Regions from separate parts of the Homo sapiens genome. Here region 2 is linked to region 1. Evidence: promoter capture Hi-C in 16 types of primary human blood cells and fetal thymus (Javierre and others, 2016). All regions are on one chromosome and are shown on one strand. Each heading gives the region's core, a stretch centred on a gene start or on the middle of the fragment in contact. The rest is flanking DNA. Distances are from core to core; before and after follow the strand shown.

Region 1 (4,405 bases), core at 1,301-3,800:
TCCCAGCTACTTGGGAGGCTAAGGCAGGAGAATGGCGTCAACCCAGGAGGCGGAGCTTGCAGTGAGCCGAGATCGCGCCACTGCATTCCAGCCTGGGCGACAGAGCGAGACTCCGTCTCAAACAAACAAACAAAAAAAAGTGCTAACACTTGAGAAAATCTCCATATGAACCAGATATTAGACAATATTAGAGAATGATTGTTATAAGTATACAAGACGATGTCCTTATTCTTAGGAGATGCTTGCTTAAGTATTTAGAGATGAAGTTTTTTGTTTTTGTTTTGAGACAGTCTTCCTCTGTTGCCAAGGCTGGAACTGCAACCTCCACCTCCCGGGTTCAAGCGATTCTTGTGCCTCAGCCACCCTAGTAGCTGGGACTACAGGCGAACACCACCATGCCTGACTAATTTTTGTATTTTCAGTAGAGACAGGATTTCACTACGTTGGCCAGCCTGGTCTCGAACTCCTGACCTCAAGTGATCCATCTGCCTCAGCCTCCCAAAGTGCTGGGATTACAGGCATGAGACACCGTGCCCAGCCTAGAGATAAATTTTACATCTACAACTTACTTTTATACAAATGTATATATACATATACATAGGGAGAGAGAAAGCATATATGGCAAATAAATATAAGTAAAGGTTTATGAGTGTTCCTTGTTCTCTCAACTTTTCAGTTTCATTTTTTTCAAAATAAAGAATTGTGAAAAAGAGATTAAAGATAAATTGCTATTCTAAACTTATGTTACAGTTCTACCTGCACACCAATTAGTCTTTTTAAGGGTTTAAAAGTAACTTTTTTCCTAAAACTATTTTACAGCTCCACCTACACTCTTAGTCTTAAAACAAAACAAAATTCCAGTAAGAATTTCAAGGTAACAGTTTTGCGACACTGCATGTGACTTTCTAATGTTTTTCAAAATGAATTCACTAAATCTGTAGGGCATATGGACACTTTTGTAAAATCAAAGTTAGTTCAAATGGATGATTATTCATTTCTAGAAAAACTGAATCCCCAGAGTTGTTCTACTTTTCAAACAGGTGAAATAAATTATAACTGCGGGGGAAAAGGCTAACACTTTCACACACACATCCCAAATTTTAAAAGTCTTAAATTTGGCAAATACAGTTAATTCTATCATAAGGAAACGTTTGCGTGAAAGGGGGAACCCACATACTAAATGCCAAACAAAAAATGTGCTACAATGTGTTAATTATAGCTCCAAGGCTACAGGACATATTTTACAATGTAAACAGTCCCTGCAAACATCAATGCATTTATGGTTTAAAAAAATACAAACTGCACACATTTGAACCGTAGGGAATAAGTCTGAGCTAGCGTCAACAAAATCCATCTCAAAAGTTCTTATATTCTCATTTCTCTGGTAAGTTTTTGCATGTGTTAATATACTTCAGTGTATAAGAAAAGTCTAGGTCTGCAACGTTTCAACTAAAGACTCAACTTTTTACTTCCTACCGAACCGCCCCCTCGCAATGGGCCCCACCTCCCGAGAAGAGTGACGGGGTGGGGCTGTTTCCCGCTCGGAAACTAAGAAATAAATGCCTCATCCCTACTCCAGAAACGAGAACAACGGAGGCAGAGGAGCTGAAGACTCCAGTATGCAACTGACTACAAGGAGGTAGTCGTTTGAAAAGCTTTCTTTCCTTCTCTGAACTCCTTCTTTCCCTCCTCTCAGGTCATTGGGTGACCCCGGGCCGGGCGGAGACAGGTGAATCCCAAGAGAGGAGGAAGAGGGAGGGACAGATGATGGAGGGAGAACCGCGTTTAGGCAATGAATGAGCCTGCTGCATCCGCACCACCTGTTCCTTCCAAGGGTGCCACCCCGACCTGCCAGCAGGGTTCCCACACCAACCGGGCCGCGACTCCTGCCGGTGTCGCCCACTTGCCCGCCAAAGGCCGGGCCTCTTCTCCCCCAGATCGGGGAGAATGAGAACCGGCAGTCTAGAAGCCGGGAGGTCGGGGCCTAGTCCGGAACCAGGGCCTCAAGCGTGGGGATGGAATGAAGAAGCCTGTGGTCCCTGGCGCGCGGGCCATAGTAGGAACCACAGAGAGGGAGCAAAGCAATGCATTCGGCCTGACGAGAGCTATGAAGGCGGGGTCCCGGGCGGGAGTGGCTCAGTGCCCGCCGGGCCGAGGTTAGGGGTGACAGGCCCGGTTACCGGCTAAATCCTCCCCACCGCTTGCCCGGAGCCTCACACTTACCAAGATCCGCTTGAAGAGCGCATTCTCCTTGGGCGGGAGGCTCACGGCCGGCATCGTTCCGGCTGCTCCCGCTGCTCCCGCCACCACCCGGCTCGGTCAGTCAGTTTGTCCGACCGCCGCCGCTGCCGTTCCGTAGCTGCTTCAGCCTTGAATATCTCGATCCGCCGCCACCACCAGGCCTCGGGTGTCGCCGCGTTGCCCTACCCGGACACCTCCTTTTTCCTCGTTGTCTTTTTTCCTTTCTCACTTAACGCTGCCGCCGCCTCCCCCACTACGGGTCTCCGTCGGCGGTTCACGTGGTAACTGAACAGACCGACAGAGGCAGCCAAAATGGCGGACGCGGAGGGTTTTCCCACCCGGGTCACGCTTCCTAACACGCAGGCGCGGTGACCTCCTTTCCCCACCTCCTCTGGGTTTCGGAGCTTGCCGGGAAACCTGGAGGCTGGCCTGCCTGTGGAGGCCGGGAGGGTCGGGGCAGGCCCCGCCCATCATTTCAGTGCGTGGTACCCTCGAAGCGCCCGCGGAGCTACGGGAGGCTAGGCAAGTACGGTTCAGACCGCCTCCTCATCAAAAACAGCCTCTCTGGCGCCTTCCTGCTAGATCGACCTTTCATTCCTTGGAAAGAGTCTCGCACACTGTGTGATCATCGTTTGAGCCCAAAGTGCTAAAATACAGGTGTAGGTGTTTGAGAAGCGCTGTAGTTGATTATGGACGAAATGCCTAATTTAAGGAGCAGAGGCGGAGTGGAAAATGAAAAAAGCTTCACCGCAGTGGAGACTTGTTAACAGCCCTGGGGAGAAAGGGGCTTAACAGAGTCTGGAAATCGTGAAAGAGCTTGACCGATGAAATGGGCCTGGCTGTCGTATCGGTAATTTGGTGAATGTTGCTTAAGATCAGCCTGGAAAGGTAGTTAGTCAGATCCGAAGTGACATATTTGCACTGCCAAAGGAGGCTCTGGAGGTTAAAGTATGTGTTTTAATTTCGTTGTTGAGGCCATATAATGCAGAGTTGACGGACCGACCTTATGAGTCACCTTGGAGCGGAGTAGTGGAGACTTAAAGACAGACTACCCTGGAGCTGGCTTCAAACTAGTTCTTAATATTGTGACTCGAACTCCCCATCCCCAGAAATTCTCAGATCTTAGAAGCCAAAGACTGGCAAGGATACTAGAGGGAACTACTCGAGTAGGCGAGGTCAGACTACATACCGAATAGGAGTCCTTCCAAAAATGTAAGTCATTTCATTAACAGCTGACCGTAAAACTTTTTCAAAGTGGCATTCCATTGATCTAAAAATTTTCAAGTTATATGAGCCACTTTTAACCTTTGGTTTTTGATTACCTCTTTCCAAATCCTGATTTCACTCTGTAGCATTCTTTGCATCATGAATTATTAAACAATATGTGCGTGTTTTTTACTGTTTTAAATTTATTTGCAAAGATATTTTAATTTTCAAACTTCTCTTAACTGTCCCTGAAAGGTGTGAGTTGAGATACATGTTTCCCAATATAAACTTGGGTTTTGTAGCTGCTATATTGATTGTCCTCGCCCTTCACCGGGGTCATAAATAAGGTTTTTAACAGTCAAATCCTGGAGTTTCCTTAAATTCTGTGATCTCTCTTCAAAAGTTTGAGAAAAATCATATATACAGGAAACTATGTTTCAGTTTGAAATATGGCCAGTATTTTAACCTTAACTTTATAAAACTAAGAACAAGCTTATAATTCATTTTTAAGCTGTTACTTAGTAATAACCTGCAAAATTCACTGCCCCAAGAGATCTTTCAACTGTCTGAACTATTGAAAGACAGAAAAAATAGTCTAAATGCAGTTGATAGTTTTAGCTTGGATTTCCAAATCTCTGGCTTCATATCCAAATTTCTGGCTTCATATCCAAAAATCCCTACAGCAATACTATTTGCTATAGTTCTCTAAATTTCTCCTGTAAAGAATATTCTATTTTCCTTCAGAGGAAGAAAATTTCTGGTCTTTGAAACAATCAGTAGCTTCCACCAGAACCTGAGTACCTGATTAGATGAGCCAGAAATAGAGTTTGGCAAATGTTACATTCTTTTTGGGTGATGACAAAGAAATGGCAATTTTAAAGGCTCGGCAAATACTAGTCTGATTCAACATTTAACTGATTCATTTGCTAGTTAAAATGCACCTACAGATAACAGTCTG
Region 2 (4,561 bases), core at 1,572-4,071, 6.3 Mb before region 1:
ATCAGTTATCTTTGTATTTATAGCACAATTATTTGCTCACAGAATTAATGAATGTACACCATAATTCTGCATGGGTCAATAACTCCACTACACTGATTACTCAGTTAATTGATGTTTCTAAAATGTACATTTTTTTCTAGATTTTACAGTAATATATTTTAAGGACTTTCTTTTTAAACTGATTTCAATATATGGATATTTTCCTTCATTAAAAATTTGCTCAGCAGCAGCCAGTCTGACTTGGGATATTTATCTTGAAATTGATCCAATGAATATTCTCAATTTCAATAACTACTCTGGCAAGAAAAAGCATACAGAATTTCCTAAATCAATACAGTAGATCAGTGTCTGCAGCACAGCACAATTCGTACAGGCAATGCAGTGTTGTACCAAGTGTTTCCATTTCTCAATGCTAATCACTTTTGATTTGAAGATAAGCTGTCAAATGCCATTAATCTGTTTACCATATTCCACCCCCCCCAACCACAGAAGGCTTTATTTTCTCTTTTTCAAATAATTTCAGGAAACTTTTGTAGAGCAGGATGACTTCTTAAATAAGCAACTTTTAAATAGGTTTTAAATAGGTCATCATGAGTTAAGAGTAATAAAGAACAAATACCAAATTCATGAAGGGATTCTCTAAAGTTCTCTGTCCACTTTACTTTTTATCACTTTTCCAGTAAGATTCAGATTTCCCAATTCCTACTTTTAGGCTTAAATGTGCTTGAGAAGTCTCTATTTTTCTAAATTCCATCACCATTAAATGTTTTGATTCCCACTGCTACCACCCTATTTCAAATCCAGGCTTGAACTAGGAAGCTCTGAGACCAACTATGGAACCTGGGTAATTTCTCATATTCTCAAAGTTCCTTCACTTACAAAATGAAAACATTAAGATCTACGTATCAGGATCATGGTGAGTATAAATGAGTATGCATGAGAGAGCCTGGCACAGGGCCTGGCATCAAGCAGGTGCTAATCACCTCTAAGAAACTTTCCTCTTTTCTCTCTCCCTCCTCAGTCCTCCTTTCAGACTTCACAGCAAGACTCATTCTGAAAGGTGAATGTGATCTCCTTAGCCTCCTACTCAAATTCCTCCAAAAGTTCACCGTACCCTAGGACAGTGGTTCTCAAAGTGTAGTCCCCAGGCCAGCAGCACCTCTTGCGCTTGCCTTTCCAAAATTCCTCTAAGGAGAGTTTACTATCTTCCAAACCTGCCAACTCTCCCAACCCCAAGATTTAACTCATCTTTTACATCCTTCCCCCTCTATGATATCTCTCCTATACTACCCAGCTTAAAATCTTTCCTGACCATCCCAGTCTCTAGGACTTTTTCTGACCTCTAATTCCAATTATTTCTGAATACAAAGAGTCTTCATCTTACAATCGGGTCTGTGTCTGGATAAACCCACTGTAAAGTCAAAAAATCTTTAACTGAACCATTGTGTAAGTGTAGGACTGTACTAAGGTGAAAATCTGCAGAGGTCACAAACTAGTTGCACCTGGCCCACCCACAGAAGGTGTGTGTTAACTAAATTGGTTGCAAGTAACATTAAAAATCAAGAAAAAATACGTAAAAATACAGATCTTTGGCCTGTGTTGGAGAAAATCGGATCTGCGTTTGAGAGACCCCCATTCCCACATGGCAACAATCAGCTAAATGGTAAATGTTTCGAGCATTCACCAGCTCTTTCCATTCTAAATAAAGGTTTTCTTTTGACATCTTCAAATATCTCAAATGGTGATTTACATTTCTTATGGATATGTAACTTTTCATGCTTGTTTTGTCTCTCCTAATAGAATACAGCCCTTAAAAAACCTGTCCTTGTCTTTGACTTTTTAAAAACCTCTTGTTACCCTGAACACAAACCGGTATTTAGTGCAAAATTATTGTAAAAGAATATTCTGAACATTGTAGACAACAGCAAAATGCTGAATAATCCACACAGTTTTTCTGGAAACTTTTGGCTTTCTACCAAGTTGGAAAAGTTTTATTAGTTTATGTTTTCTAAACATATGGATTAGGGTACAACTCTTAAGACAGATAATAAAAAATTTTTATATTATTTTGGTTTAGGTCGTCTTTCATTTTCTAATGAGAAATACATATGAAGACAGCATGCCCTCTGCTGAAAGAGATTTAGACCCTGCCCGGCACGCCATGTGACGGAACCTAGATACTGTTTGTAACTTTTAGTTTGAATCCAACTTTTATATCCTGGATTTGATTTCCCAGAAAAGAGTTTCAATTTCACTCTTTGGTAGGAGTCATAGTGGCTTTCTCTGACGCGGCCTCAGGTTAACCATTTACCGGGTTTGGCAGCGACAAGGGAAGAGCCACCTTAACAAAGCTGCCTTGCTGTGGCTCAGAGATAACCTGAGAAACCTAACCAAGATGAGAATTTTAAAACACTGTTTACGTACAGGGCCTTTCTTTGTTAAAGCTTCCATTTGAACCCATTTGCCGACTCCTGCCTGTCCACACATATCCGCACCCCGAACATCAATATTAGGAGAATATTCGATAATACTCTCCTTTTCCTTCCCCCACCCCAAATCCTCCAGGGGGCGCCCCGGAGGACCGCGCTGGCCCCCCGGCGGGAGGGCGGCCGTAGGCGGGAGCCCAGTCCCGACTCCTGGACGCCGCGCGCACTCCCCATACTCACCCGCCCGAAGCCACGGAAGTGCCACCTGACCCCGCCCCTTCCGCCGGATCCTCCCACGCAGGCGCAGCGCCGACTGCAGGCGCGTGGGGCCCGGGGATCGCCTGGGGCTGGGTGGCGGTGCGGGGCATGGCCAGGGTCCCCGTGGACGTGGCCGCGCAGTTCCGGCGTGTGGCGGAGAGCGAGTGAGCGTGAAGGTCTCCCGGCCTGCAGCAGGCTGCGGAAGCTCTGCGCCGGGAAGTTCTCTGGCGGGGGAGGGGAGGGCGGTTTACGGCCTTTGGGGTAGGTTTTGCCCTTTTTAAGATCCACATGAAATCTTTCGCCTCCGAAGTTCGAGGGTAACTTTCGTTCCCTCCTGGCCTTCGCGACACCCTCGAGTCGGACGGAGGCCGAGTCGTGTCCTCACCCCCAGCAGCCTGCGGCGGCCGGGACCCCCGGAGGCCCTTCTTCCGCTCCTTGGAAACTTAAAATGTGGGGTGAGGGAGAGACGCGTTACGTTTGACAGACCGGTGAAATTAAAGACACTCAAGCTTCTCAGAGTGATTTGAAGAAATGCTCAGCGTTCTGCCGAAATATAGTTTTAAGTTTTTAAACCACGGCATGGTTTTTAAAGGCTGAAGGACCCACAGTTTTTTTCTCTTAAAGGGCACGCATTCATTTTGATTAATATTTCTTAACATGCAGCCAAAGCCAGGACTCGGGCTCACTGCTGCAGGGGTGTCCTCGGGAAGTCCCGAGGGGGGAAAGGCGCGCAAGCCTGAAATGGAGATGAAAATAAACAGGCATAATATTTGCTACCTCACTGCGTTGGGCGTAGTAGTAACTAATTCTTAAAAAACGTCTTAGATGACATATAAGTAGTAAAGCCGTTGTATGCTAATCTAGAATTTTTGAGAAAAACTTAATCACCCAAATGTTTGCTATAATGTGATGAAGATAGCATCCATCGGCAGTAGCCAGGATCAAATGACGAGTAGATATGGTTATAAATGGGGCCCATGCAGTATAATTAGTATATGAAACCAAGATGTCAGTCCTCACACAGAATTTGTGTAATGATATGCATTTGGGAGGCTTCAGGCCTTTTCAGCTATTTGATACAGGTTGATTCTTACTGAATACAGAATAATAAAAAATGAATTACTGGTCTCACCATTTTCATTATTACTATTTGGACCAAAAGACTACCACTTTTACTCCAAAGATTGATTGTAGACTCAATAGCCAATGACAGAAAATTAAGCACAAGTCTAAATGAAGCCGAGGATCTAGTAGAAAGAACACAGAATCAAACCTTTCAAATCTCAGCCTATCGAACACAAACAGATTGACAGTTCTTGAGACGGTTTACTTCCTTTCTTTAAACTTGGCGTTGCTCATCTGAACAATTGTTTCGGTAAGGGTTACGTTTGATGAAAGCTCAGTTTGTGCTACCTTAGAAGTGAAGAAGTTTGTTAATTTTAAAATTGAGTTTATCCTTACCTGCTTTTCGTTCTACAAACTCAAACACTTTCATGCATGTCACTTTTTTATTCAGAAGTTTTCTAAACAGTACAGCTTAGGGAACACATTTCCATGGAACATTAGTGTTTTGCAAAATGTTAATAGATTCTTCATGGGAAAAAAATTGCTAGCATCACCAATACTGGCGAAAATATGAACCTGTCATTATGAGGCTATGGGAAATACACTTTTGTAGAGCTCTTGCCAAAAATGTTTAACCTGAATCTGATTGTGAGGAAACACTGAGATAAATTCTGAATGTGATTTGTTCGGACTTTTCAATAAGGTTAATAAGGAAGACAATAAAAAAAGGCAGGAGGACTGATCTACATTAAAGACAGCTGTCAACTAGATAGCCTTAAGGATTTAAAAAATTTGAACCTGGGCTGGGCGCA

The links. Contacts are between HindIII fragments. The CHiCAGO score rates a contact against its expected background, and 5 or more counts as called.
Region 2: a fragment that was not itself captured here is called in contact with the fragment with the promoter of NAA15 in region 1 in 5 of 17 cell types (non-activated CD4 T cells, fetal thymus, total CD4 T cells and 2 more); the score reaches 9.8 in non-activated CD4 T cells.

What each region holds. Positions count from the first base shown.
Region 1 is chr4:139,299,650-139,304,054 of GRCh38, reverse strand. NAA15 (N-alpha-acetyltransferase 15, NatA auxiliary subunit) reads right to left here and starts at 2,550. Exons shown (of 20, transcript NM_057175.5): 1 at 2,224-2,550. The coding sequence starts at 2,277. NDUFC1 (NADH:ubiquinone oxidoreductase subunit C1) reads left to right here and starts at 1,578. Exons shown (of 6, transcript NM_001184989.2): 1 at 1,578-1,639. RefSeq lists enhancers at 2,500-2,559, 3,040-3,159. The HindIII fragment of the contact is 1,328 bases long and covers 1,658-2,985 here.
Region 2 is chr4:145,617,513-145,622,073 of GRCh38, reverse strand. MMAA (metabolism of cobalamin associated A) reads right to left here and starts at 2,689. Exons shown (of 7, transcript NM_172250.3): 1 at 2,667-2,689. RefSeq lists silencers at 2,321-2,390, 2,421-2,860. The HindIII fragment of the contact is 749 bases long and covers 2,447-3,195 here.